6 separate regions of the Homo sapiens genome follow, and regions 1, 2, 4, 5 and 6 are each linked to region 3. Evidence: promoter capture Hi-C in 16 types of primary human blood cells and fetal thymus (Javierre and others, 2016). All regions are on one chromosome and are shown on one strand. Each heading gives the region's core, a stretch centred on a gene start or on the middle of the fragment in contact. The rest is flanking DNA. Distances are from core to core; before and after follow the strand shown. Region 1 has its middle 2.7 kb from the start of SPRYD7. Region 2 holds the start of CAB39L (calcium binding protein 39 like). Region 3 holds the start of ATP7B (ATPase copper transporting beta). Region 4 overlaps CDADC1 (cytidine and dCMP deaminase domain containing 1). Region 5 overlaps KPNA3 (karyopherin subunit alpha 3). Region 6 overlaps SETDB2-PHF11 (SETDB2-PHF11 readthrough).

Evidence for each region. The method cuts DNA at HindIII sites, captures the fragments that hold promoters and counts their contacts. A CHiCAGO score of 5 or more calls a contact.
Region 1: a contact is called between a fragment that was not itself captured here and the fragment with the promoter of ATP7B in region 3, in 1 of 17 cell types (non-activated CD4 T cells). The highest score is 5.5, in non-activated CD4 T cells.
Region 2: a fragment that was not itself captured here is called in contact with the fragment with the promoter of ATP7B in region 3 in 1 of 17 cell types (fetal thymus); the score reaches 9.8 in fetal thymus.
Region 4: a fragment that was not itself captured here is called in contact with the fragment with the promoter of ATP7B in region 3 in 1 of 17 cell types (fetal thymus); the score reaches 5.1 in fetal thymus.
Region 5: a fragment that was not itself captured here is called in contact with the fragment with the promoter of ATP7B in region 3 in 3 of 17 cell types (naive CD4 T cells, total CD8 T cells and fetal thymus); the score reaches 6.7 in naive CD4 T cells.
Region 6: a contact is called between a fragment that was not itself captured here and the fragment with the promoter of ATP7B in region 3, in 1 of 17 cell types (fetal thymus). The highest score is 6.9, in fetal thymus.

Annotation. Positions count from the first base shown.
Region 1 is chr13:49,936,925-49,941,110 of GRCh38, reverse strand. No RefSeq gene overlaps it. Among named protein-coding and RNA genes, the nearest start is that of SPRYD7, 2.7 kb to the right of the region's middle. RefSeq lists an enhancer at 3,791-3,840. The HindIII fragment of the contact is 853 bases long and covers 1,622-2,474 here.
Region 2 is chr13:49,442,554-49,446,749 of GRCh38, reverse strand. CAB39L (calcium binding protein 39 like) reads left to right here and starts at 2,686. Exons shown (of 11, transcript NM_001079670.3): 1 at 2,686-2,764. SETDB2-PHF11 (SETDB2-PHF11 readthrough) reads right to left here and starts at 2,476. Exons shown (of 21, transcript NR_135324.2): 1 at 1,893-2,476. SETDB2 (SET domain bifurcated histone lysine methyltransferase 2) reads right to left here and starts at 2,476. Exons shown (of 14, transcript NM_001160308.3): 1 at 1,893-2,476. RefSeq lists enhancers at 1,323-2,096, 2,779-2,858, 2,097-2,869, 3,239-3,308 and silencers at 2,569-2,618, 2,290-2,770. The HindIII fragment of the contact is 3,801 bases long and covers 599-4,196 here.
Region 3 is chr13:52,010,009-52,014,244 of GRCh38, reverse strand. ATP7B (ATPase copper transporting beta) reads left to right here and starts at 2,795. Exons shown (of 21, transcript NM_000053.4): 1 at 2,795-2,958. The coding sequence starts at 2,908. It overlaps ALG11 (ALG11 alpha-1,2-mannosyltransferase), which reads right to left and starts at 1,847. Exons shown (of 4, transcript NM_001004127.3): 1 at 1,783-1,847. The coding sequence starts at 1,826. RefSeq lists enhancers at 1,589-1,678, 1,729-1,858 and silencers at 1,979-2,078, 2,089-2,198, 2,249-2,588. The HindIII fragment of the contact is 3,430 bases long and covers 1,318-4,236 here.
Region 4 is chr13:49,248,250-49,252,184 of GRCh38, reverse strand. It overlaps CDADC1 (cytidine and dCMP deaminase domain containing 1), which reads right to left. Exons shown (of 10, transcript NM_030911.4): 2 at 3,220-3,314. Among named protein-coding and RNA genes, the nearest start is that of CDADC1, 2.3 kb to the right of the region's middle. RefSeq lists an enhancer at 3,837-3,935. The HindIII fragment of the contact is 634 bases long and covers 1,631-2,264 here.
Region 5 is chr13:49,787,258-49,791,612 of GRCh38, reverse strand. All of the region lies in intron 1 of KPNA3 (karyopherin subunit alpha 3), which reads left to right. Among named protein-coding and RNA genes, the nearest start is that of KPNA3, 3.2 kb to the left of the region's middle. RefSeq lists an enhancer at 1-416. The HindIII fragment of the contact is 1,095 bases long and covers 1,343-2,437 here.
Region 6 is chr13:49,491,610-49,495,958 of GRCh38, reverse strand. The region is part of intron 12 of SETDB2-PHF11 (SETDB2-PHF11 readthrough); the gene reads right to left. It overlaps SETDB2 (SET domain bifurcated histone lysine methyltransferase 2), which reads right to left. Exons shown (of 14, transcript NM_001160308.3): 14 at 956-4,227. The coding sequence ends at 4,110. PHF11 (PHD finger protein 11) reads right to left here and starts at 6. Exons shown (of 10, transcript NM_001040443.3): 1 at 1-6. RefSeq lists enhancers at 1-204, 515-1,200. The HindIII fragment of the contact is 587 bases long and covers 2,080-2,666 here.

The sequences.
Region 1 (4,186 bases), core at 799-3,298, 2.1 Mb after region 3:
AGGTGATTCGCCCTCCTCAGCCTCCCAAAGTGCGTTTCTACTAAAAATACAAAAATTAGCTGGTTGTGGTGGCGGGCGTCGGTAATCCCAGCTACTCAGGAGGCTGAGGCAGAAGAATCGATTGATCCCAGGAGACAGAGGCTGCAGTGAACTGAGATCGCACCATTGCACTCCAGCCTGGGCGACAAGAGTAAGACTCTGTCTCAAAAAAAAAAAAAAAGTACTAAACAGGCCAGGCAGGGTGGCTCATGCCTATAATCCCAGCGCTTCGGGAGGCCAAGGTGAGTGGATCCCTTGAGCCTAGGAGTTCAAGACCAGCCTGGGCAACATGGTGAAACCCCATCTCTATAAAAAACACAAAAAATTAGCCAGGCGTGGTGGTGCCACTGCACTCCAGTCTGGGCAACAGAGTGAGACCCTGTCTCAAAAAAAGAAAAAGAAGAAAAAAAGTACTAAATATCGTTTTTTTTTTCCGGTAGAGACAGCCTGTTAAGGACAAACCTGCAAAATATTAATATTCAAAGGCACCGCTAAGAGAACCAACTAATGGCAGTCTGTTGCAGTTACAAGGTTGACGTTATTTTCCTTATTTATTTTTGGTTGTTCAATCTAGGTAATATAACTTATAATTCAGGAAATCCAGATTAAATGAGCACAATTCATGCCAAGTAAATTTAAATGTCAGTCTCTGAGGAAAGGGGATAGAAGGAGACAAATACAAATTAGGAATGTATATTCATTTTTTATTTTTTTATTTTTTTTTTGAGATAGAGTCTTGCTCTGTCACCCAGGCTGGAGTGCAATGGCACGATCTTGGTTCACTGCAACCTCCGCCTCTGGGTTCAAGCGATTCTCCTGCCTCAGCCTCCCAAGTAGCTGGGATTACAGGCACACACTGCCATGCCCGGCTAATTTTTTTGTTTGTTTTTAGTAGAGACAGGGTTTCACCATGTTGCCCAGGCTGGTTTCGAACTCCTGAGCTCAGGCAGTCCATATCCCTCGGCCTCCCAAAGTGCTGGGATTACAGGCGTGAACCACCGCACCAGACCTAGGAATGTATTTTTAAATGTAACACCCTAGGAGGCAGTTTGCAGAGTGGTTAAGAACACAGACCCTAGAGCCAGAATGTCTGTTTGAATTTAGCTTCATCCTTCATTGACTGTGCAACTTTTGAGTACATTTCTTATTTTTTCTTCAGCTTCCTCATCTGTAAAGTGGAGGATAGTTTTTCCCTCACATGGTTGTTACAAAGACTAAATTAGTTTATTTTTAAAAAACACTTAGAACAGTGCCTGGCAATAATAAGCACTACATAAATGTCAATCACTATTAGTTACTCAAAATTATAATAATGAATTGGTCAAGGCTCCAGAAATATGTCAGTTTTTAGAAAAATGAGTTTTTGTTAATGTTTCTGATTTTTAAAAAGATCACAAATGTGGTTTGGATTAGTCTAAGGAAAAATGTTTTGTTTAATAACTGATTAATGAGTTTTTAAAAACTCATTTCGTATGACCCAGTACAGAATGGGAAATTCACTAACAGAAGACGTCCAGCTGGCATAAAAAACATTAAAGAAAATCTTAAGCATAATGCTAATCTCAACTCTGAAACACAAGCTTTACATTATTGTTCTCAGTTCTCGAGTTCCTGGCATGTCTTGGAAGCAGACAGACTCTTTTTTTGAAGTAGTCATTCTTTCTTATTGCTTATGACTTAGATAAATGACCTTGAGAAACTATTTTTGGCTTTATTTGTGATTGTTATTTAAAGCGATAGCTGTGAAAGAGTGTCAAAACATCTTTAACGTTGTGCTTTTCAAAAAGAGAGGATAATTCCTTTGAAAGTAATAATGAATGGATATTAGAATCCCAGATATTAGAAGGAAAAGTGAGCTCATGGATGGTGTTAATCTGCCAAGACAGGGAAGTCTGTTTCAGGAGCTAACCAGTTTTGCTAACTTCATTCTGCTGAGCACACTCGAGTTGCTAGGATGGGGGCAAAGTGCACCGGGCAGCGCCCCAGCAAATTACTTTTCCAGCTAGGAAAGACTATGGCCCTTCTGCCTCTCTATAGTAATGTCCAATTCACGGCCATTTAGTGTCTGGCTTTTCATTGAAGATGTGACTGACTTGAATGGCCTAAATGTTTATTACATATATAATACATGTACTTCTTTTAATAATATTTCTGAACAAAATTTTTACTTTATAACAACTAATTCTATTATATTTTGTCTATACATGCATTATGGCAGCTTATATCCAATGTGGAGATAAATGAAACACACAAAAAAGGGCAAATCTGCATTTTGAACTGAGAGCATGTTTAAGAGGATTATAGCATTAATTATAAGAGAAAGAATTTGAGAGGCAGTGTTAAAGCAAACTAAATATGGCCTGAGAAGGACTCTGTACTTCTGTATTTGAGTCCTTGTGTACGAACTGTAACCTAGGTTAATAGGCAGACAAGCTTGAAAACCTAATTTAGGAGTATGCACCTGTAACAATAGCTGAGTCTTGGCCAATCCCAGCGGCCATACTTCAACCAGTCATACACTGCTGATTGTTCAAACTGTGTTCAAATAAGGCAAACGCCCCCCTGTAACCAATGCAGCTGTTTCTGTATCTCACTGCTGATTTCTGTACGTCACTTCCCTCTTTTTGTCTAAAAATTTGTTCTGACCACGAGGCATCCCTGGAGTCTCTCTGAATCTGCTGTGATTCTGGGGGCTGCCCAGTCATTCACTGCTCAGTTTAACTCCTTTAAATTTAGTTCAGCTGAAGTTTTTCTTCTAACAGGAATCAGACTGGTAAGCCTTGAATCCTACCTGTTTATCTCCTGCTCACCTGAAGTTGTAAAGTTTAGTACCTCTAGGCCTATTTCTTCACCTATAAAATGGGGACAATACTGACCTTGAAATCTTGAAATAATTCAACTAGATATATATATATGAACGGTAGAAAAATTTTGTCTCTCCAATATTCTGTTAAAATTCTCACCCCCTGCCCCGCCCCCAGCACTTCCCTGGGGTTAAAAAAAAAAAAAAAAAAAAAAATCAAAGCACTTAATTCCCAGCATAACGATGAAGGTTTGTCATAAAAGAAAATTTCTTGTGTGAAATGATTACCAAGAAAGTACTGCATACGCAATGGGGGAAAAGACCAACCCTCAATCAGTTTAATAATCACCTTGGTTATTAAATTCTATGGTAACTTAATTTCAACGTACAAAACTTTCCCTTAGTATTGTAATGAAAACACCATTTATAGAAAGAGAACCAGGAACCTGAAAAATTCCCCTCATTGCATAGATAGAAATCCTCCTTAAAAAACATTTATAACTCGGGTCACTAAAAGTTACGTATGGGAAATCATTATTTAAGTAGTGGGCATTTTATGTCCAGTTTCCCAGGACTTGATGATCCATCCCTAGGGAAGCCTTCAGGATGAAACTGATCTGGGAACAGAGGTTTGAGCTAGGTTAATTCTAGAGGTCGTCCCAGACATTTCCAGATGCCAAGCGGTATCTTTTTTTTTTTTTTTTTTTTTTTGGAGACAGAGTCTCTGTTGCCCAGGCTGGAGGGCAGTGGCGCGATCTAGGCTCACTGTAACCTCCGCCTCCCGGGTTTAAGCGATTCTCGTGCCACAACCTCCTGAGTGGCTGGGATTACAGGCGTGCACCACCGCACCCAGCTAATTTTTGTATTTTTAGTAGAGACGGGGTTTCACCATGTTGGCCATCCTGGTCTTGAACTCCTGACCTCAGGTGATCCGCCCACCTCAGCCTCCCAAAGTGCTGGGATTACAGGCGTGAGCCACTGCACCCGGCCTGAAGATGTAAAATCTACCACGGAAGGATGATCTAAGTGGGGAAGGAGATGACAGGTGACAGCCTCCCGTGTGGAAGCAGAAAGTAGCGGACGGTAGGAGCCGAAGGCTTCCCTCGGGACCCAGCAGACTTCCCGCAGCCTCCTGGGTTCCCGTCACATTCCTCGGAACCCTCAGTGCACCAGACAGGGGGAGCTTGGAAGAGGCAGGTCAAGAATCGCCCCCGACCCCGCCCCAGCGTTCTGCTCCCAGGGCGGCCTCCCACGCGCCCCGGACCACGCAGCCCGATGGGCCAGGTAGGGCGCGTCTCTGCACCGAAAATGCATTAGGGCCCGCGTGAGCCCCGGTGAACATCC
Region 2 (4,196 bases), core at 1,250-3,749, 2.6 Mb after region 3:
TCAAACAAAATAGGATTTAACAACAAGACCAATAAAAGAGACAAAGAAATGTTTTATATTAACAGATCAATTCAGTCATACACTGGAACACTATGCAGCAGGTAAAAGAAATGATCCATAAATAACATAATGAGCTATAAATAACATGTACAGGCTGCAAAAACAATGTCAAGAAATAAAGCTACAGAATGATGTAGTATAGTATTTTTCCACTAAAAAATTACAAATGTATATATTCACCTATATAGAATATGTAACAGTATTAAAAGGTGTAAGTATTAAAAAACACTTGAAAGCTCTGTACCAAAGTCTCCAGCGGGAGTAGGGAGGGAGAGGAGTGAGGGAACATTCCTTGTACAAAACTTTCAAAGAACGGAGAATTTTTATCATATACGAACTTTCAAGAAGGAAAAATACGGGAAGCTATTCAACTGTTTTTATAAGTATAACCTTGACACGCAAGAAAAAACTCAAGGTCAAAATCTGGATTGTGCTCTTTATCTACAAGGTACCAATTCTGTAAAAGAATGTAAAAGTGTACTTAATTTTTAAAAATTAAGTATATATAAATGTTCAAAAAGGAATTCATTTTAAAGCTTTTTATAGCATATTGTCAAACTCTCTTCCAGAAAGGTTCTACCAATTTATACTTCCACCTAAGCACACTCAGTAATAGTTTTATTTTTTTTTAGACATGAGGTCTATGTTGCCCAGGTTGGTCTTGAACTCTGGGCTCAAGTGATCTGCCAAAGTGCTGGGATTATAGATGTGAGCCACCCACCGCGCACGGCCATAGATTTTTTTTTTTTTTTTGAGACGGAGTCTCGCTCTGTCACCAGTGCAGTGAGAAGGGTGCAGTGGCGTGATCTCGGCTCACTGCAGCCTCTGCCTCCCGGGTTCAAGCGATTCTCCTGCCTCAGCCTCCCGAGAAGCTGGGATTACAGGGGCCCGCCACCACACGCCCGGCTAATTTTTGTGTTTTTAGTGGAGACGGGGTTTCACCACGTTGGCCAGGCTGGTCTTGAACTCCTGACCTCAGGTGATCCGCCCGCCTCAGCCTCCCAAAGTGTGGGGATTACAGGTGTGAGCCACCGCGCCCGGCCCATAGCTTTGTTTTTAAGCAGCTCTCACCAGCGTTCACACCTGAAAATTTGAAAACTGAACGTGCACAAGTAAAACATGTTTCCTGGAGAAAATCTGCAAAATACAATAAAGCATAAAGGAGAAAATTTAAACACCATCCCATCATCCAGAGACAACTGGTGTTAATATTTCAGAGAGTAAATGGGCTTAAAAAACTTTTTTCCCCTTCTCACTTTTTCATTTTGGTAGAAAAATAATTAAGCCAGTCTGCTTTGCTTCAATGTATGGTTCCTTTTCGTTTCTAAAACAGGCTTTAAAAACACGTTTACCATTTCCTCTCGGCTCCTTACGTTTTAATTGTAACGACAGAACCACGGGTTAAGTCACGCTTAAGAACCACGGGTTAGTCACGCTTCTAACTACTTCACGTGTTCTTATTTAATCCCCCTAACAGTCATGTGGGTTAAATTAGCAGCTCGTTTGCTGATGAGGAAGCTAAGGAATGCCATACCGTAAGTGGCAGACACGAAATAAGGAACCAGGCAGCATGGTTTCAGAGCCTATGCTTTGGTTACTCCATTTGACCTCTTCAAATTTACTCCTCTCCTTGGCCTCATGTGTTAGTATTTACAGAGCTCACTGCAGGTTTCCACATGCCAAAGAGCACAGTTAATTACATATCTTTCCTTACTTAATTACTTATTGGGCTGTGGCTGATAGCGAGTCAGAAGTGTTACTATCTAATCTGAACTCCATGATCTTGGATGAATGACTGAACTTGCTGTATTTAAGGGCTCGTGTAATCTTACCTGTGAAATGGGCTAGTGGTTTAACCTTCAAGTTCTGCTTCTGGGTTTTATACTGCTGTCCATTTCCTGCCGCCCCTTTGACAACCTCAGGTTCCCAGCAGCTTAGGAATCACCTCTCATTAAGGCTGCACCCTGAGACAGACAGGCTGAAATGGAGGTTGGAAACTCAGTGCGCCCGCGGCCCCTTCTGCAGCCAGGACTGCACTTGGGTGCCAGGAGAAGGGAGGCTGCAAGGGCTGGGGTCCAGCCCCTGCTCGGGCGGCCGAGGGCTCCGCGGCGTTTTCAGCTCCTCCAACCTCCCGGCTAGAGGAACTGTCGGGGGCCAGCCACGGCGGTGCCTTGGTTTCACCTGGCTCCGCTGCGTTTTCTACGCCGCCCGCCTGACCTGAGGAGTGAGCTCCGCCAGCTCCGTTGGCAAGGCTGGGTTCCTCCGCGGGTGGGGCTCTCCTCCGACGCCAAGCCGCCCAAACCTCCCGAGCGCAGGTGCCCTCTGGCCGGGAAGTACTTCACCATTTACTAGCCTTCATCTCAACCACAACAGTCCCGCCCTGCCTCTACCGGGGATGAGGGAAGGCGTAACCTCCGCCGGGGACCAGGCCGACCTACCTAAACCGATCACTACATGGGAGGAGTCGGACGCCGGCCGTCCCACCACCCAGCCAGGAGCCCATTGATTGGTCGCACTCCCCACTGGTTCACGCCTCAGAGACTCGGCGCACTTACCGCTGGCACCGCAGTGGCGCCCGAGCGCGCCGCCTCCCGATTGACTGCTAGCGCTCTCGGCTTGTCTCGCGCACTGTAGCTGAGCCAATGGAGTTACTCGTAGTCGAGAGGCCGGCATCACTGGAGTGGTGGCGCAGCTGTTTCCTCCGGTAGGTGTGAGGCTGCCATCTTGTGTGTGGCTGGGACTGGGCTTCTTGGGGGTTGAAAACATACATAGCGCCTGGCCGTAGTGGAGGGGTCCGGAGAGAACAATGGGGTAAAGGAGAGGCCTAAGGGAGGAGACCCAGCGCCTTCCTACTTGCGGAAAGGATGGGTTTCCTGGGCCTGAGTCTCATCCCTGGCTAGAGAGAGCGAGGAATGGTGGTGGTGGTGGTGGTGATGGTTGTGGTGGTGGTAATAGTAGGGATCCCAGGTTTTGGTTTGTTGATCATTGTGGGGGCTGGGCGGGGCCTTTGATGCCTTAACATTGGTTCCTGGGAGCTCTTTTAGTAATTTTTGTCTCGCAAAGATTCTGACCATCAACCCCCTTTGACAAAGGAGGCTAGCTGATGAACTGCCTGATTGAGAAAGGAGCAAAGCTAGTAGTGGAAGGGGAGTGCCTCTCTACTATCCTCAGGTTCAGAAGAGACCTCCTCTTCCGTCCTTTTCGAGGGAGCGGCTGCTAAACAGTTTGCTCTTCGCGGGGGTTACTTTACTAAGGCCATCCTTTGGTAATAGTGGGCGTCAAGTTCTGCGTTTGGGCAAAATTGTACATTAGCGGGCAGCCAAGCATTCCTGCAGCTGTCTTTTTTTTTTCTTTATTTTAAGCTAGAAAGTGGTGGTCTTGCAGAAACGGGGCGTGAAGGAAGAATTTTGTCAAATCTTGATTTCCCCGATAACGATATGTTGAAGATTATAAATCTCTGGGTCTGCCATGACATGCTTGGTCACTTCATGGAGCAGGAGGAGGCTTTGTTAGGGAAAGCACCTTAATTTCTGAGCTCTTTTTGGGGTAGGAGGAAGAAGACAGGACTTAACCTTGTTTCCCTCCTCCTTTTTTTTTTTTTTTTTTAGCATTGTTGTGGATGGCATTGCATTGTCTTTCATTTGAGGGGAAAATGTATTGGATCTGAAGACCAAGCTGATGAAAGGCTAATATTTTGTGGTAGATTTTAGCAGTTTGACTTGCATGAAAAGAAAGCCGATGTATTATTGCCTTCAGCTTAGATTTCAGTTATTCAAGATTAACTGATGAACAACCTAATCAACAATACATGATAAAGACATCTCGCATCAGGAATACCAAAAAACAAAACAAACAGCAAAATAATTGATGTTTTTTTTTTTTTTTTTTTTTTTTTTTTTTTTGAGATGGAGTCTCTTGTCGCCTATGCTGGAGTGCAATGGTGCAATCTCGGCTCACTGCAACTCTGCCTCCGTGGTTCAAGCGATTCTCCTGCCTCAGCCTCCTGAGTAGCTGGGACTACAGACACCGGCCATCACGCCCAGCTAATTTTTGTATTTTTAGTAGAGATGGGGTTTCACCATGTTGGCCAGGCTGGTCTTGAACTCCTGACTTTAGATGATCTGCCCGCCTCCACC
Region 3 (4,236 bases), core at 1,546-4,045:
TTAACGTGAAACCAGATAGTGGCTCCTCCTTTCTGTTTCTGCATTCAATCTAGTGATATGTTGTTTTTGTTGAAGTATATGAAGAAAATTCAGGCTAACTTAGACATGTAGTAGGAAAAGGGAGTATATTTTAATATATATTGATCTTATGTTTAAAATATATTTAACTTTTCAGCTAGTTACAGATATTCTTCTCTGATGCTAGACCACATTTGACAAGTTATGCAGTTTCTTAATGTCAGTTGCAATACAGACTCTGAAACCCTATCAATGACCTTTTCACACTGTTAATTAAAATCCACTATCACTTAGTTTTATCCGCTATCACTTTTGCACTTATCAACATAGTAAAATAGGCAAATATTACATTAATGTTATTATAAAAACAGATTTGTTGAGGATCCATTGAAGGGCCTTGGGACCTGCATGGTCCATGGAGCACAATTTGAGAACCACTGCCTTAAAGGATGAACAGAGTCTGACAAAAGTGGTAAGATTTATCATTTATTTAACATTTGGAATATATGAATTCATAAAAGCAACACTACAGAGGACAGTTTGCTTTCTCAGGACACTCTTTCAAAAGCTTATTTAAAATGCAGCTGACCCATATAATGTAAAGGTTTTTCTGGCAATTCCTTCAAATAATTTAGGTGGGAAAATTCATGTGACAAGCTTTTCAAACTGAACTATTAAACATTTAACTTAAAAGCTGCATAATAACTAAAGTTAAACCTGTCCTTTAAGTCTGGTTAGTGAGTTTATTTAAACATTATAATGTAAAGCACTGAGGAATATTACGTATGACAGGGAAGAACCAAAAGGCTCTGATAACAGACTTTCTCATTCAAAATGTTTAAAGTAATGATTACAGAATTTGAAGTAGAGTGGACAAAAACGAAGAAGAAATGCCTGAACTTTTGAAAGAATTAGGTATATACTGCTATTCAGGAAGCTATGGTGTTAATTATAAATTTTCAGCCTGAACAAAAATATGTAGGTGGTAAAAAAACTAGGTAGGTAGAATATACTAGGCCTTCTGTTTTATTAGTGGAGGGCAAGGCATTTAAAATACAGTAGTACTACAACAACAAAGGTGGAAAAAAGCCTGGGAGTTTTTTCACCAAAATGTTAACAGTGGCTATCTCCGGATGGTAGCATTCCTGGGGTTTTTTCCTTTTACTTATCTATTTTCTAATTTTTCTAGAAGAAACAGCATATACACGTAATACAAATAAAATAATATTTTATGTAACTTCTTACATCATAAAAATTAAAGTAACAGATTATCAAAAAGCAGAGGATTCAACATAAGCTTTATATTTAAGTGACGTGTTAACAATGGCAGTTTTGGTGAGTTTAAGAGTAGAAACTAAGATGAGAAGGAAGATCCGGTTTCTTCTTTACCGAAAAGAGACATGATAGATTGGAAAATGTCTCGTGGCTCAATCGTAAAGAAAAATAAGGAATGAATATGAATAATTTATGACAGACTAACTGGAGTGTGAAAGGGAAAAAAAAAGCTGAAGCAGGGAAGGGAACTCGACCCCTCGGCCAACAGTGAAGCAGAAGAAAACGCGGTAAATTGAGTCTTTAAGACCTAGTCTATTCCAGTCTATATAGAAGACCCCCAAGAAAAAGAAAGACTGCTCATTGGCCTGAGAAATTACCTTAGATTCATGACAAGGAAGGCCATTTGCCCGCAAAATTTAGCTACACTGGACGGGCAAGTACCCCTACAGAAGAGAAAACGTCTGTGAGCCCACACGACCGGCTGCTCACCTCAACAACTTGCACAGGCACCAGCTCCTTTCGCCGGCCGCCATCTTCCGCCGACCCCCGAACTCAGGAAACGCTTCACTTTCCTTTTCCCTATTGGCTCCTGAGAAAGCAAGCCGTGCTCGCCCCGCCCCCACGGGCCAATTGTGCGTTACTATTGGTTACTGGTAGCCGCTTCCCACGGCCTTCCAGCCAATAGAATATGCCGAGGCGTAGACTAGTGTTCGGCGTGGCGCACACGGCTCCCGCCCCCGTGGGCGGGACAGCAGTGGGGGGTTGGGCTGAGGAGGGCGTGGCCTGTGATTGACAGCCGTCGCTCCCTCCCTCGGCCACCTCCCCCACTAGAAGCCCCCGCCTGGGCGCCTGCGCCCCCGTTCCCGGCCCAAAGCCCGCCGCCCGTTGGAGGCCATTGGCTGGCCTTTGCGCACAGCGGATCGATTTTCCAGGTGCGGAGTTCACTCTTGCCGCGGTTGCTTCCTTTGGGACCCACGGCGTCCGGCAGCCAGGCGCAGAGTCCGAGGAGGGGGCAGCGCAGAGCGGACCCGACGCGGCGCCGCCGGGCACCTTCCCCGCAGGCGGTGGGTGAGCCCTGGGAGCTGAGTCTGCGGCCCGGCTCTGCGCAGCTCACCTGCCCTCCCGCTCCCGCACACGCGTGAGATCCCAGTACAGTGTCGGAGCGCACCAGCGCGAGGTGGCCGAGACCGCGGAGGAGGACAGGCCTCCGCCCTGCGGCGCCGGCACGGCAGAGGACATTGTGGCACTGGCACGGCAGAGAACACTGTGGCACCGGCGGGGCCGGCAGTTCCAGGGTGGGCACTCCCAGCCACCTGGGGAGTGGGCGAGGGTCCGAGGCCCACTCTCCCCTCACGCTCTCATCCCCGTGCCCCCAGGTCGGGAGGACGGCGGCGCGCAACTTTGAATCATCCGTGTGAAGAGGGCTGCGGCTTCCCCGGTCCCAAATGAAGGGGCGGTTCCCGGACCCCTGTTTGCTTTAGAGCCGAGCCGCGCCGATGCCCTCACACTCTGCGCCTCCTCTCCCGGGACTTTAACACCCCGCTCTCCTCCACCGACCAGGTGACCTTTTGCTCTGAGCCAGATCAGAGAAGAATTCGGTGTCCGTGCGGGACGATGCCTGAGCAGGAGAGACAGATCACAGCCAGAGAAGGGGCCAGTCGGAAAGTGAGTTTTGTTCCCCCGCGTCCGCGCAGCGTGCTCACTCCCACCAGGAGGATTTTCCTCCCCGCGTTCGGCGCTTACTCGCCCCCAGGGGGTGCGCAGGGAAGGCCGAGCCAGACCCCAGCTCCAGGGATGTCTTGGCGTGGGAGAAAAGGACCCTTTAGAAAAAGTGTGCCGTCAACTGATGTTTGGGAGCAATGGAAAACCCCGCACCTCAAAATTCATCTTTATGCTTTTAAGGGGTCTGATGCTGGAGAGATAAAGTGAGCGTCGAGTTGCTGTGCTAGAGCCCTAATGGCTCAAAACGATGAAGTTAGTTACCTGGAGAAGTTACTCAGAGCCTGGTGCTTGGACCAGATATGGTATATCGAGGTCCTGGAACTTTTATAACTGTTTTAAATTCATTTTAATTGTACAAGTAATACATTAAGACAGTCTTTTAAAAATGGAAACAGCACAGAAATATTTTGCACAAAAAGCAGATCTATTTTTCAGTCTTTTTCTATTCACGTACATATGTCTTCATTCGGCAAATATTTATTGAGAACTTTCTATGTTTCAGGCACACAGTGTTGAGTTGATACAGTGGTTAACAAGACATGTATCTATATGTAATATGCACACATTCAGAGAAATCTTTAGGTTTCATTTGTATGAGGTGTTAAAATTTTTGTTTTACCTAAATGAGATCACTGTATGTGCATTCTCTTTTTTCAGTTTAACGATATATCTTAGAGATTGTTTCACTAACTGTCTAATTCAGTGCAACCTCTGCACAGTTTGGACGCATCATAGTTTATTCATGGTTTCCTAGTGGTGGACGTTCTGTTTGCTACTTTTTTTCTCTCTCTCTTGCAAGTGAACATCTTTGTACATGATTTTTAATGCTGACACTATTTCTTTAGGATAGATACTTAGGCCTGGATTGCTGGACAGAACAGTAGGCTGTTTCTTTTCCACAGATTTCTGAAACTAATTCACTGACGTTGCTGGGTGCCCTTTAGTAGTGAATTCATCTAGGCTCCGGTGATACAGAAATGAAAACTAACGGATTAGTGGACAGACAGAGAGAGGCTGGTTAGTAGGTGGTTTGTAGGGTATGATGACTATGCATTTGATAGGAGTATGAAGAAATGTTGGGAGGGGTGGCTTGTACAGAGGAGATTTCAACTTCCTACAGTGTCCCCACCTAGAGAAAGAAATCATTATCCTTCCAAATCAAGCTCAAGACCTGCCACCTCCTTGAAACGTTCTGTAACTGCTCCTGCCCATGTTGACCTG
Region 4 (3,935 bases), core at 698-3,197, 2.8 Mb after region 3:
CAGTGAATAGGAGCTGGGCATGCTCCAGGACCAGGAGCTAAGAGTGATAACCTTTCATATAGCCAAGTCAATCCTAGTTCCAGGTTGCCTGGCTTTCTGAAGACATGGATGTTCTTTGTTTTGATGCCTTCTGTACTCATTTCTATGTGTTATAACTTTCCATTTAAAAGCCTTAAATAGACATGCGTATGAGTCAGATTTCTAAATAAGATCCCAAATAAAATATCTGAAACAAAAGACTTATTTATTTTCATTTAGAAAACTTCCATGGTGCCCACCAGATGAAGGAATGAGATGCCAGGAAAACTTAAGAGTTGTTGGCTTGGGAGAAAATGAGAGTCATAACCTTGATCTTTTGTTAAACATGATATAAAGTTGTATAAAATTTTGTTGCTAATATAGTTTTGAAATTTCCTTGGTAGTATTTTTTTTAACAAAATGCTAACTGAAAGCTTCATCTCAGTTTTCTCAGATCCACAGCTTTCTCTATATAGTATGAGGAAACAGTAGGGTGTGTATTATTTGCAAATAAACTTCAACAATTAGTTGGCCAATCAATTCCTTCCTAATAGAAACATAAATGTCATTTCTCACTAATTAAATACAACTTGTGCCTGTTGAAAAAAAAAACTTAATTTCAGCACAGGATGTGGTGTGTATATAAAAAAACAGAACTAAAACGAGATCACATCTGGATATTTACAAAAAAAAGAACGCCTTTTCAAAATTTGTATTCAATCTCTAATATGTCCAGTTTTTATACGTTTTTTTTTCTTTTTTTTTTCTTTTTTTTTCTGTCGCCAGGCTGGAGTGCAGTGGCGTGATCTCAGCTCAATGCAATCTCTGCCTCCTGGGTTCAAGTGTTTCTCCTGCCTCAGCCTCCTAAGTAGCTGGGACTACAGGCACGCACCACCACGCCCAGCTACTTTTTGTATTTTTGGCAGAGACGGGGTTTCACCATGTTGGCCAAGATGGTCTCGATCTCTTGACCTTGTGATCTGCCTGCCTCGGCCTCCCAAAGTGCTGGGATTACAGGCATGAGCCACTGCACCCGGCCTAAAAGTCTTAAACCTCTAAATATTTGTTTCTAATCTGGCTCTTCAAAATAAATTTTATCTGAAAACAAAACAAAACAAAACAAAAAAAACACAACACTACATAAAATCCCTAACAGCTTGGAAATCTACTTTCATAAAATAATACTAAACTATTAACAAGTAGAAGGAATAAAGGAATTTCAAAATTAATGAAGGAAATGAAGAGCTTTCTCAGCCGTTAATAACATGTAGAGCCAGAGTGGGGGGATGAGGGTGAGAAATATGGAATAACGATGTATAATATTTTAAATAATGTTTTACTATCTATAAAACACTTCACATAGGAATTGGGGGAGGAAACTACACCAAGAGATATCATTTTATTATGAGAAGCGAATATCCTCACATCCTGTTAAAATTCCTCAATGCAATTCCTATATTGATAAGATAAAATCTAAACTCCTTTGCAAGGCATACAATGCTTTTTATGATATGATTCCTGTCTACATTGTCAAGCTCCTTTCCAGTCTCTTCCCTCTACCTAACTTCACTTTCTGGCCTGAGGACCACAAATTCTCTCATTGCTCCAAGCTTTTCCATGTAGAGTTCCTTGGCTTGGGCAAAAGTCCACTAATCCTTCATGTCTCAGTGCAAATACGACCTTCTCTGTGAATCCTTCCTTCACTTCCCCATATAGAGCCTGGCTCCCAGTCTTGCCAACATCTCTGCTTATACTATGTACTCACTCCACCAATTCTGTTTTAATTGTTTAAATGCCTAGTGTTTCTACTCATTAGAAAATAAAGACCATGTTTTTTCTGCTTTGTGTCTCCAGTGCCAAGCACAAAACCTCATCCACAGTAAAATGAAAAGAGTAGGTGGTCTCCTAAGAGTACTGTGGGAATTTAAGGATTTATAGTCTTTCTCTGGAAAATCTAAAGCAACCTTTCAGCAGAATTATGGGCAAGTTGGAAACCTCAGCGAGTACATGCAGAATATAACTACAACTTTGTAAGAGTAAAAATAAAAAACCTCATGCTTAAGATTGGAAGCACCAAAATATTAACAGTAATGTTGTTAGAGTGGTGAGAAGCCATGTGTAATTTTCTGCCCCACCCCCCTCATTTTACCTCTGTTTTAAAAAAAGTCTTAAATGCTCAACTTAACCTAATACTATTTTCCAATGGCCGTGGCCCCCTATAAAAATTAATGCCAACACCCTAAGCTTCCAAAATTATCAAACAGAAATGATGAGAACCTAGCATCATGCCATTCCAAGCATGGAGGAAAATGAGAACCTAGCCCCTTGTTGCCCCAAGGGTAGGAGAAAGAAAAGACGCAGGATGTTTATACTTCCAATTCCAATATATTGGCTTTTATGATTATTCTTACTATACATTTCTGATTTTTTTTTTGAGATGGAGTCTTGCTCTGTCACCCAGGCTGGAGTGCAGTGGTGCAATCTCAGCTCACTGTAACCTCCAACGATTCGTTCAAGCGATTCTCATGCCTCAGCCTCCCGCGTAACTGGGACTACAGGCGGATACCACCACTCCTGGCTAATTTTTGTATGTTTAATAGAGATGGGGTTTCACTATGTTGCCCAGGCTGGTTTTGAACTCCTGACCTCAGGTGATCCACCCACCTCAGCCTCACAAAGTGCTAGGATTACAGGCGTGAGCCACTGCACACAGCCCATTTCTAATCTGTTTTGATCCTGTCTTTCAAGATCCAAAAAGAGACTACTTCCATCCAACATTAATCAATTAGCACTCATATAATGCTAGACTCTAAAGGGTATATGCTAGGTAAAATAAGACATGGTCTCTATCTCCAGGCAATTTATATATTTCTGTGGCAGAGGAGTAAACTACCTAGATAAAACACCAACAGTATATATAATTGGGGGAAATTATGTGGTATAGACAATAATCTTATTAGCCGAACTGACATATGAATACCATTAGTACCCGATAAACATGGTATTCTCAGAAAGTATTTTTAGAATGGAAGATGACTTATTACGGCTGGGAATTATAAAGTGTCATGTTAATCAATAAAGATATTTTTTAAATCTTAAGCCTTGTTAAGTTTGGTTTTAGGTATGACAGAAACTGGAGCAATAAACTCAGATTTTAAACCACTGCTTTTCTAAGGGGAAAAACTATGAAACAAATTATACCTGAGATTTTTGCCGCTGGGCTTCTGCTGGAAAGAGCTCCATCCAGAGGCTGAGCAGAGTGAAAAGGTTGACTTTAGAAAGCCTTGGTATCTGACCTACAAAAGAGACGACAAACACTTTAAACTTTGTTACTAATGGTGAAAAAGGGAGCCAATCTCAATGCCACTTAGGTGCTGCAGCCTAAGCCCAGCTGCTTTCGCAAGAGGCACAGAAAAAGATAGGGGACAAGAGAGTCAGAGGTATCTTAGCAGTAGACGCTTCAGCCTTAGTCGTGGCTACCTCCTTCTCCACTTAAAAAGTTGAGCCTTCTTTCTCCAGCCCTCACCCTGCAGGAAAAAACGGTACAGCTAATACACATAGCTGAGGGGGACAACCCAAAGCAAGCTGTGAAAAGTCTTCGCATCTGACGTCGTCGTGGTGCAAGCTTTTCTTTGGACTGTGATGGGGCGTTGCTAAAAGGAAAGCGATTAGAACACAACCCGAAAAATGCGCTGACCTTCGACGGTAAAGCAGTCGAAATACAGGAAAGCGTCACGTGCGGTTAATTTGGAAATCAAGGCAAAAGCGCCGTTTGGAAATGTTCAGGCTCTTTGACCTCAGAGGCCCCAGCTCTAGGTCCTGTGAGAAGTAGCTAACAGGGGTAAAAAGCGAGACTTCAAAAGCCAGTGCGACCGAGCCGATTGGTCCTGGCGACCGCGGAGGGGACACGCAGAGGG
Region 5 (4,355 bases), core at 641-3,140, 2.2 Mb after region 3:
AAATAAATTGGATACACAGGTTCATAATTCTCTTACATACCTCTTGCTCCAAGCTAGTAGAATTTCCAAGTGGTTGCAAAACTAAACATTCATCGCGGTCACTCAGTTAGTTGCTACTCAGCATGTTGCCATTGTCTCATTAAGGTGACATTAGCAGGTACTATTTGCAAACTCGGCTTATTGAGGCAGCGCTAGAGGTCTCTCTGCAGCTACTGAAAACAGTAAGTATAATGCACAAACTTCACTGGGACCGTGACCTTTGGATTTGTTAGGGGGAAAATGGTTTTAAGGCCGCAGCCTTCTTTGCTAATACTAGGCGACATGATTTGCAGTTTTGTAATTTTTGATAAGCTAGTGTGATTAAGAGGTGTGTTTTATCCTGTCTTAAGGAAGGTTGTGGGGTAAATATACCATTCAGTGTTCTATTTTGTAGAGAAACAGACAAACTCAGGCCGTTTTTCAGAGCTACAAAATTAAATACTAGTAGGAAAGAACCTAGGGAGATATCCGTGGAATTCCCATTTAAATGAGTCAAATAAAGATCATATATTCTTTCCTGGTCATGGTTAAATACCCTTTGTAAGAAATACATCTAAGCGAAAGTAAAACTTGGGAATAGGAACAAGAAATTTTGGAACTGCCTCCTGTTATTGGTCCACTTGATGACAAGTGTTAATTTTGAACTTTTCCCATTAGGAATTTTTCTTGAAGCCTATCCTGTTCCAAATAAAAATTTATTGAAAAATACTCATTGTTTGTACAGAAAAACCAGTAACATTCTTCTCTCGGATATTGGTACAGGTTTTTGTTTCATTGTTTACCTCTATTGTGTTCTGGTAGCTCAGTGATACTTAGTAAGGACTCCTGCACATAATAGGTACACAACAAATATTTGCTGATAAGAATGTAACCCGTGACTTTTAGATGCATGAAAAAGAGCATGGTTGCTAAGCCATTCAGCCTGGTATTGGTCACAACATTACATTTCTCGGGATTCTATAGTGTAACTAAAACATGAAATAGACATTCAAATGGTAGTTCTAATGTGGCAGACACTGTTACGAGCTTCATGATACCTTATTTAATCTGTGTAACAAGTATATGAAGTGTGGCATTATCCCCACTTTACATGAGTAAAGTATTTTTTGAGACGGAGTCTTGCTCCTTTACCCAAGTTGGAGTGCTCAGGCACTCATAGCTCAGCTGCAAGCTCAAACTTCTAGGTTCAAGGAATCTTCCCACCATGGCCTCCCAAGTAGCTGGGACTACAGGCGGACACCACCACACCTGGCTAATTTTTTAATCTTTTTTAGAGACGGGGTCTCGCTTTGTTGCCCAAGCTTGTCTTGAACTCCTGGGCTCCAGTGATTCTCCCGCCTCGGCCTTCCAAAGTGTTCGAACTACAGATGCTAGTCGTCACACCCAGCTGGAACTTTAGATAAAAAACCTCAGTGTGCTTATGTAGCCTGTGCATGTCACTCAGTGGATATGGGTATTATTTATTCACTAATTGTCTATTGGGTATCTATCAATGTTAGGTCTTGGGGATAAGGAATAAGATGCAGTCTGTACTTCAGGGAGTTTACAGTCCAGTGGGGGTGATAATTACAATGCAGAACAACAATTGTTACAGTATAGTATTCCGAAAATGCATGCCAAAAAAACTACTTGGAGGTGAGCAGAAAGGGAAGATACTCTGGTTGATTTCTAATGGATGAATGGGAGTGAGCTGATTGTGAAGGATGAAAGAAAGGTGGCCAGGCAAAGGGCGGGAGAAGGCTGGTGGAAGAAAGGGGCATTCCAGACTAGAGGGAGCAGTAATTGAAGAGTCCTGAGAGAAATGTAGGAGAGAGAGAGACTAAAGGGTAAACTGGGGTCAAATCTGATGAAGGGCCTTTATTGGGGATTTAGGCATATCTAAGAGTAGATAACCATGCTTAGTCTTGTCCATTAGAAACAGTACAACTTAGCTCTGTAACTGAGTAGTTGTGGTTATCAGGCTGTTCCAAAACAGTGAGATGCACTTTGATAAGCTATGATGCCTATTTTTTCACATATAGGATAGACAAAAACTAAAACATGTTATAAATTATAGAAGCAGCTGATACACAAGATGTTAGGTGCAAGAATAAGATCCATACTTGTTAAAGAAAATAAAAGGATAGAGTTATGCCAGGGGATTTGAGTAGAGAGAGGGTTGAGGAAGAAAATTTCTTTGTCATTCAATCGAGAGAGACTTTAAGAGATCTTTGGAGAGGAAAAAAAAAATGAGGTTAGTGAATCTTATAGGAAATATGTACCAAACTTAAAAGGGGCATGTTAACTGGTGAATAAATATCCAGGTAAAAAAGAAGAGTGATTATATTAAAGAGAGGAGACTTCCAGGTGGCCTGTGTTGATGCAAGAATATCTTGTGGCAAAGAGTTGCTTGGAAGCTTTTTCTTAATAGGGAGATGTGAAGGAATTTATTCCAGAGCAAAGAGGAGATGTAACATGATTAGAGCAATGGAAAGGGTGACAGGGCAGTAATACCTAGAATTCATTTTGGAGAAATAGCGCTGTTGTCTGATCTGCAAAGAAGAGTTTTCCAAAAAATTGAGACTGGGAATGGCTACAACCTGGAATGAGGATTTGATGATGCTGTTCTTCCTCCCTCTTCCTCCTCCTTCAAATTCTCTTTATAAAGATCACTGAAGAGAAAGGGAGTAAAGGTTATTCTGAGGTTTATAAATGGAGGAAGGGAGGGAGTAATTATCATCACTGATAGAAATTTGGAGCTTGGGTAGGGGATGCATTTTGTAGCAAAAACTAGGAAGTACATATTGAAAGGGAAACATTTCCTTTTATTTGTTCTGGAATGTGCTTTTTTTTTTTAAAAAAAAAAAAAAAAAAAAAGAGGGTCTGGCTCTGTCGCCAAGGGTGGAGTGCAGTGGCCCAATCTCGGCTCACTATAACCTTCGCCTCCTCCCAGGCTCAAGCCGTCCTTCCATCTCAGCCTCTTGAGTAGCTGGGACTACAGGCACATGCCACCACACCTGGCTAATTTTTGTGTTTTTTGTAGAGACGGGGTTTTGCCATGTTGCCCAGGCTGGTTTCAAACTGCTAGCTCAAGTTATCCTCCTGCCTTGGCCTCTAAAAGTGTTGGGATTAGGGGCATGAGTCACCATGCCCGGTCCTGGAATGTGCATTTTAATGCTAGACCTTTTCATGTAAGGCATTGATTCTTAAAAACTTTTCCTGTTTTCAAAGATAACTTATAGAAAAGTGTGCAAAACAGAAATGTTCTGTTTAATGAATAATTACAAAACAAATGCTCAGGTAACTGCAATCCAGGTCAACTCATTTTCTTGCTGCTGTATACCTCAAGGGTGTGACATTTTCATTAGTAACAGTAATTAATTATTTTAAAAACCTTAACATTTATTGTTTACAGTATATCAGTGCTAAGTACTTTATATAGATTATCTATTTAATCTTCACAACAGTCCTATATCAAGTAAGTACTATTATTATCCCCATTTACTGCTGAGGCAACTTGAGGCCTACAACCCTTAAGTAAGTGGCCTTAAGTCTTCCATCGGGTGTTAAGTGGCAAAGCCTGGACTTACAATATATCAAAGCTTTATGCTAAGCGGCTGGGCGCAATGGCTAACGCCTGTAATCCCAGCACTTTGGGAGGCCGAGGCAGGTGGATCACCCGAGGTCAGGAGTTCGAGACCAGCCTGGCCAACATGGTGAAACCCCGTCTCTACTAAAAATACAAAAATTAGCCGGGCATGGTGGCGCGTGCCTGTAGTCCCAGCTACACGGGAGGCTGAGGCAGGAGAATGGCGTGAACCCGGGAGGCGGAGCTTGCAGTGAGTCAAGATCGCACCACTGCACTCCAGCCTGGGCGACAGAGCGAAACTCCGTCTCAAAAAAAAAAAAAAAATACAAAAATTAGCCGGTCCTGGTGGCTCATGCCTGTAATCCCAGCTACAAGGGAGGCTGAGGCGAGAGAATCACTTGAACCGGGGAGGCAGAGGTTACAATGAGCTGTGGTCATGCCACTGCACTCAAGTCTGGGCGACAGAGTGAAACTCTGTCTCAAAAACAAACAAATAAAGCTTGATGCTAAAGCTAGAACTCTTGCTTACTGTGCTGTACTCCACCGAAGGGAGTCTAAGACTTGACATGTACAAACCACGCCTGAAAGTTAGTGAATGGGGAAAATATTGAAGAAATATCGACTATATCACAGAAATTGCTATTTCTATACTTTAAAACCTTGCAAATTTTTGATGAACTTTACTATTAGATTTATTTGCCTTTTTATCTTTTTACTCTTGCAAAGTTTCCTTCTTATCAGCAAGGAG
Region 6 (4,349 bases), core at 1,124-3,623, 2.5 Mb after region 3:
GGAAGTGCCCCAGCTGCACTAGGTTTCGTTTTCTTAAATCTGGGCTGTCGCTTTGAGTCACTAGCCGGCCCGGGGAAAGTTGGGTGTGCAGAGAGGGGTTGTCACACACACTGCTCCAGATTCCAGTCTAGTCTTAATTTGAATAGCTTAAAAAACCCAAACGCCGGGAGCAGTGGCTCACGCCTGTAATCCCAGCACTTTGGGAGGCCGAGGAGGGCGGATCACGAGGTCAGGAGTTCAACACCAGCCTAACCAACATGGTGAAACCCCGTCTCTACTAAAAATACAAAAATTAGCTGGGCATGGTGGCGGGTGCCTGTAATCCCAGCTACTCCAGACACTGAGGCATGAGAATCGCTTGAATCGGGAGGCGGGGCTTGCAGTGAGCCGAGATCGCGCCACTACACTCCAGCCTGGGCTACAGAGCGGGACTCCGTCTCAAAACAAACAAACAAACAAACACACACAAAAAACAAACAAACAAAAAAACCCCAAACGCCAGGCTTCCCTACTCCACCCCCCACAACACAGCGGGAGAAACAATCACTCTCCTGAGGGTTCCTCCTAAAAACTATCATACTGGCCGGGTGGGCGCGGTGGCTCACGCCTGTAGTTCCAGGACTTTGGGAGGCCGAGGTGGGCGAATCACGAGGTCAGGAGTTCGAGACCAGCCTGGTCAACATGGTGAAACCCCGTCTCTACTAAAAATACAAAAATTAGCCGGGCTTGGTGGCGGGCGCCTGTAATCCCAGCTACTCGGGAGTCTGAGGCAGGAGAATCGCTTGAACCCGGGAGGCGGGGGTTGCAGTGAGCCAAGATCGCGCCACTGCACTCCTGCCTAGGCGACAGAGCCAGACTCCCTCTCAAAAAAAAAAAAAAAAAAAAAAAAATTATCATACCGAGTTTGGCTTAAATAAGCATATCTTAAAAGGACGCAGAATTAGCCGATCCTAAATCCAGTTGCCAGTAGCAAGCCTTTATTTAGCACCCATAGGGTACAGAGCACCATACAAGATGAGGTTTTCAGTGAATCTAACATAAATGCATATAATTATAGTTAAAAAATAAGTTGTTCTGGAAAAAAGACATATAATAGTTGGTGGTTTGCTGAGGAATTAAAGGAAAACTGGAGGTCTTCCACTTTCAGCAGGTTGTAAAGAGGAAGACTGCCAACTAGGGATAGCAGAAGAGAGAACATTAAAAAGGACAATTTGTATAGTCTTGACAACTATGAAATGAATTGCAGAAGAGTGTGGGGTCTGCAAAACAGGGAAGTGAGCAGACAGACCCTAGCAGCCAATTTTTAAATTTTTTTTTGCCCTCCATGCAGGAGGATGAAAGAGTATTTCTTGCCAGGCCAAAATGAAAGGCCCTTTATAAAGAGACTGACATTAGGGTGTTCCCCAGCAAGATAGCTCAGGTAGGTCATAGTAAAACAAAGAGCCCTTTACCACACTCTCAGCTTATAGTAAGCTTTTTGGTGTTCCACACTTAAATATGAGTAGACTACCAAGACCATTAACTCTGAGGAAAGCCTATAATGTGAACGACCAAAACAAACATACAGGGGAAACAAAGAAACAAACCCTGGAGGACACAGATTATGCCGAAAGAATACAGAGATGCATGCCTGTATGTGTATGTATACGTGTGTGCATATACATACATAAACACACAAACATCTTCAAGGAGATAAAATACTGCAACCATGAGCCAAAATAGGATGCTATTAAAAAAAAAGAATATTCGGAGAAGGGGAGCTCTTAGAAATTAAAAATATGAGACAATATGAGACTAGAAAAATAAAATGCAACAGATGAACTGGAAGATTAAATTGAGAAATGCTCCTAGGAAAAGGTCCTAGCAAGAAGACAGAGCTGAAAGTTAAGAGAAAAGATAGGAAAATTAGAGATCAAATTCTGGAGGTCTAACATCTGGAAAACAGGAATTCCAGAAACAGTGAAGAGATGGGAAATCATTAGTTTCAGACGGAATGATCCCACCAGGCACCTAGTACAAAGGATGAAAATGGACTCTTAACAGGGACAGAACATTGAGACAAAGATAAACCTATAAGCTTCAAGAGAGATAAAAATGGATTATATATGCAAAAGAGAAGGAACAGAATGGCATTCAATTTCCAGTAGTCACCCTGGAAGCCAGAAGACAGATTTTCAGACTCCACAGCAACAGCACTGAAAGCTAGCAGATGTCTTCAAAACTGGGCATGGAGACCACTAAAGAATCCTATACCTTGCCAACCAAAACAGCAATCAGGTATAAGGGTAAAATAAAGACATTGTCAAACACACAGAGATTCAAAACATTTACTTTTCATTTTTCCTTTCCAAAAGCTATTGGAAGAGCTTTACCAATATGTGGAAGAGTAAACCAAGGAAAAGGAAAATAATGGCATCTAACTGGAAACAGATCCCACATAAGAGACAAAGTGAATCTCTGGGGTACTGATGGAAGATGATGGCTATGAACCAGTCCAGACTAAAGCAAATCAAGATTTTAGGAGAAATTTCTCCAAGAAGATAAAACTGACAGAATACCTCATATTTCTAAAGGTCAAATGGACTCCACAGGCAGAGCTCAAAGAAATACTGGCTGATCCATAATATTCCCTTTTGCACAAAAATGGTTCCCATACTGATCAAGCTTTTTTCCCCCATTTCATTTTAGTGCATTGCCTGAAATTCCTGCGTCTCTATGGTGAATAAATGGATTTCTCAACTTTCTTCATCTGTAGGTTGCTGGGCTATGTTTTGCTCCTTTTCCTAGCTGTCTGGTTTCCCAGTCTGCTTGGGCTTCCCAGTCCCCTTTTCCACTAGATAGATGATCACGGCCAAGTAACCTATGGCAAAGTGCTTACTCTTTGCCTTTTTTCTGTAAAAAAAAAAGATTTGCAAATCATGCCCAGGAGATACCAAGGGGCTGTTTCAGATTTCATAGTTCAGAATTGTTTTCGTGTGTGTGTGTGTGTGCTGTTTTTTTTGAGAGAGAGTCTTGCTCTATTGCCCAGGCTGGAAGTACTATGGTGAAATTATGTCTCATTGCAGCCTTGACCTTCTGAGCTCAAATGATCCTCCCACCTCACTCCTGAGTAGCTGAGACTACGGGCACATGCCATCATGCCAGGCTAATTTTTGTATTTTTTGTAGAGACAGGGTTTTGACATGTTGCCCAAGCTGGTCTTGAACCCCTAGGCTCAAGTAATCCACCTGCCTCGGCCTCTCAAAGTGCTGGGATTACAGGTCTGAGCCACCATACCTGGACTTCTTGTGTTTTTTAAGTGAAATTTTTGCCCAGTACAATTACTTCTGGCCTAAATAAGCAACGTGTGACTACTTTCTAGGTTTCCTTTTCAGTAACTGTATCTCTATCTAGAACAAAAATATTCAAGTTCCTCCAGGTTTCTATTCCCTCTTCTCCTATCTGTTTGTATAGAAAGAGTAGAGAAAATCTGTGGGAAAGAAGACTCATTTCAAAGAGCTTGCCAGAATCTTACTTACAGAAGAGCTTCTCCCTCTCCCCACTCAAATGGTTGATGGGACAGTGTTTTATCGATCCAGATATTGCTTCTCCAACAAGTGTTAAAATACTTGGGAGTAATATGCATAAAATTAGATCCTCAGGCGCTGTTGCCCACCTTGTAGCTCATAATGGTAAATTATTTGCCAGGAATTAAAAATCAATTTTGTAGGTAAAAATGTGAAATTTAGCTCTTTGGGGGGGCATGAACTAAAAGGTAACAGTCACAAAAGCAATTAGAAACAGCTGAGTTCTGTTATGACATTTGTTTCTCTTAATATATAATTTGTAAATAAATTATAAATTGTACAGTGGTATTTCATATAAAATATACACTTCCATCCTACTCATGTAAAGTAGCACAGCAGTGAACAAGATACCCTATGTGTATGAAAATATCCTAATTGTGTTCCTGGAATTTCTAAGTCACACAAATAAAATCTGAAATAAAACATAAACCCCATGACAAAGGAAAACGGAGGGGAATTTCCTTGATGGACCTAGACCTTCTTTTGCATGGCTTTAATTTCAGCCTGATAAGCTAATTTCACAAACAGGCGTTAGTTACATATTTATAATATTTTTTTTCTACATTTATTAACCCCACATTGGCAGAAGATTTCCTTCTCAGGCACAGTCCCAGCTTCATAGCCATAATCCCATGTTAGCTCTGTTCTTGCTTTCACATACCTAGAAAGTAGAAATTTGAAAAGAATCATAAAATACCCTAAATAACTACCAATGAACCAAATTATATCAATTTTCATATTAACATTAACCATCCTCAAAAATATGATCTGTTCTCTCACCCA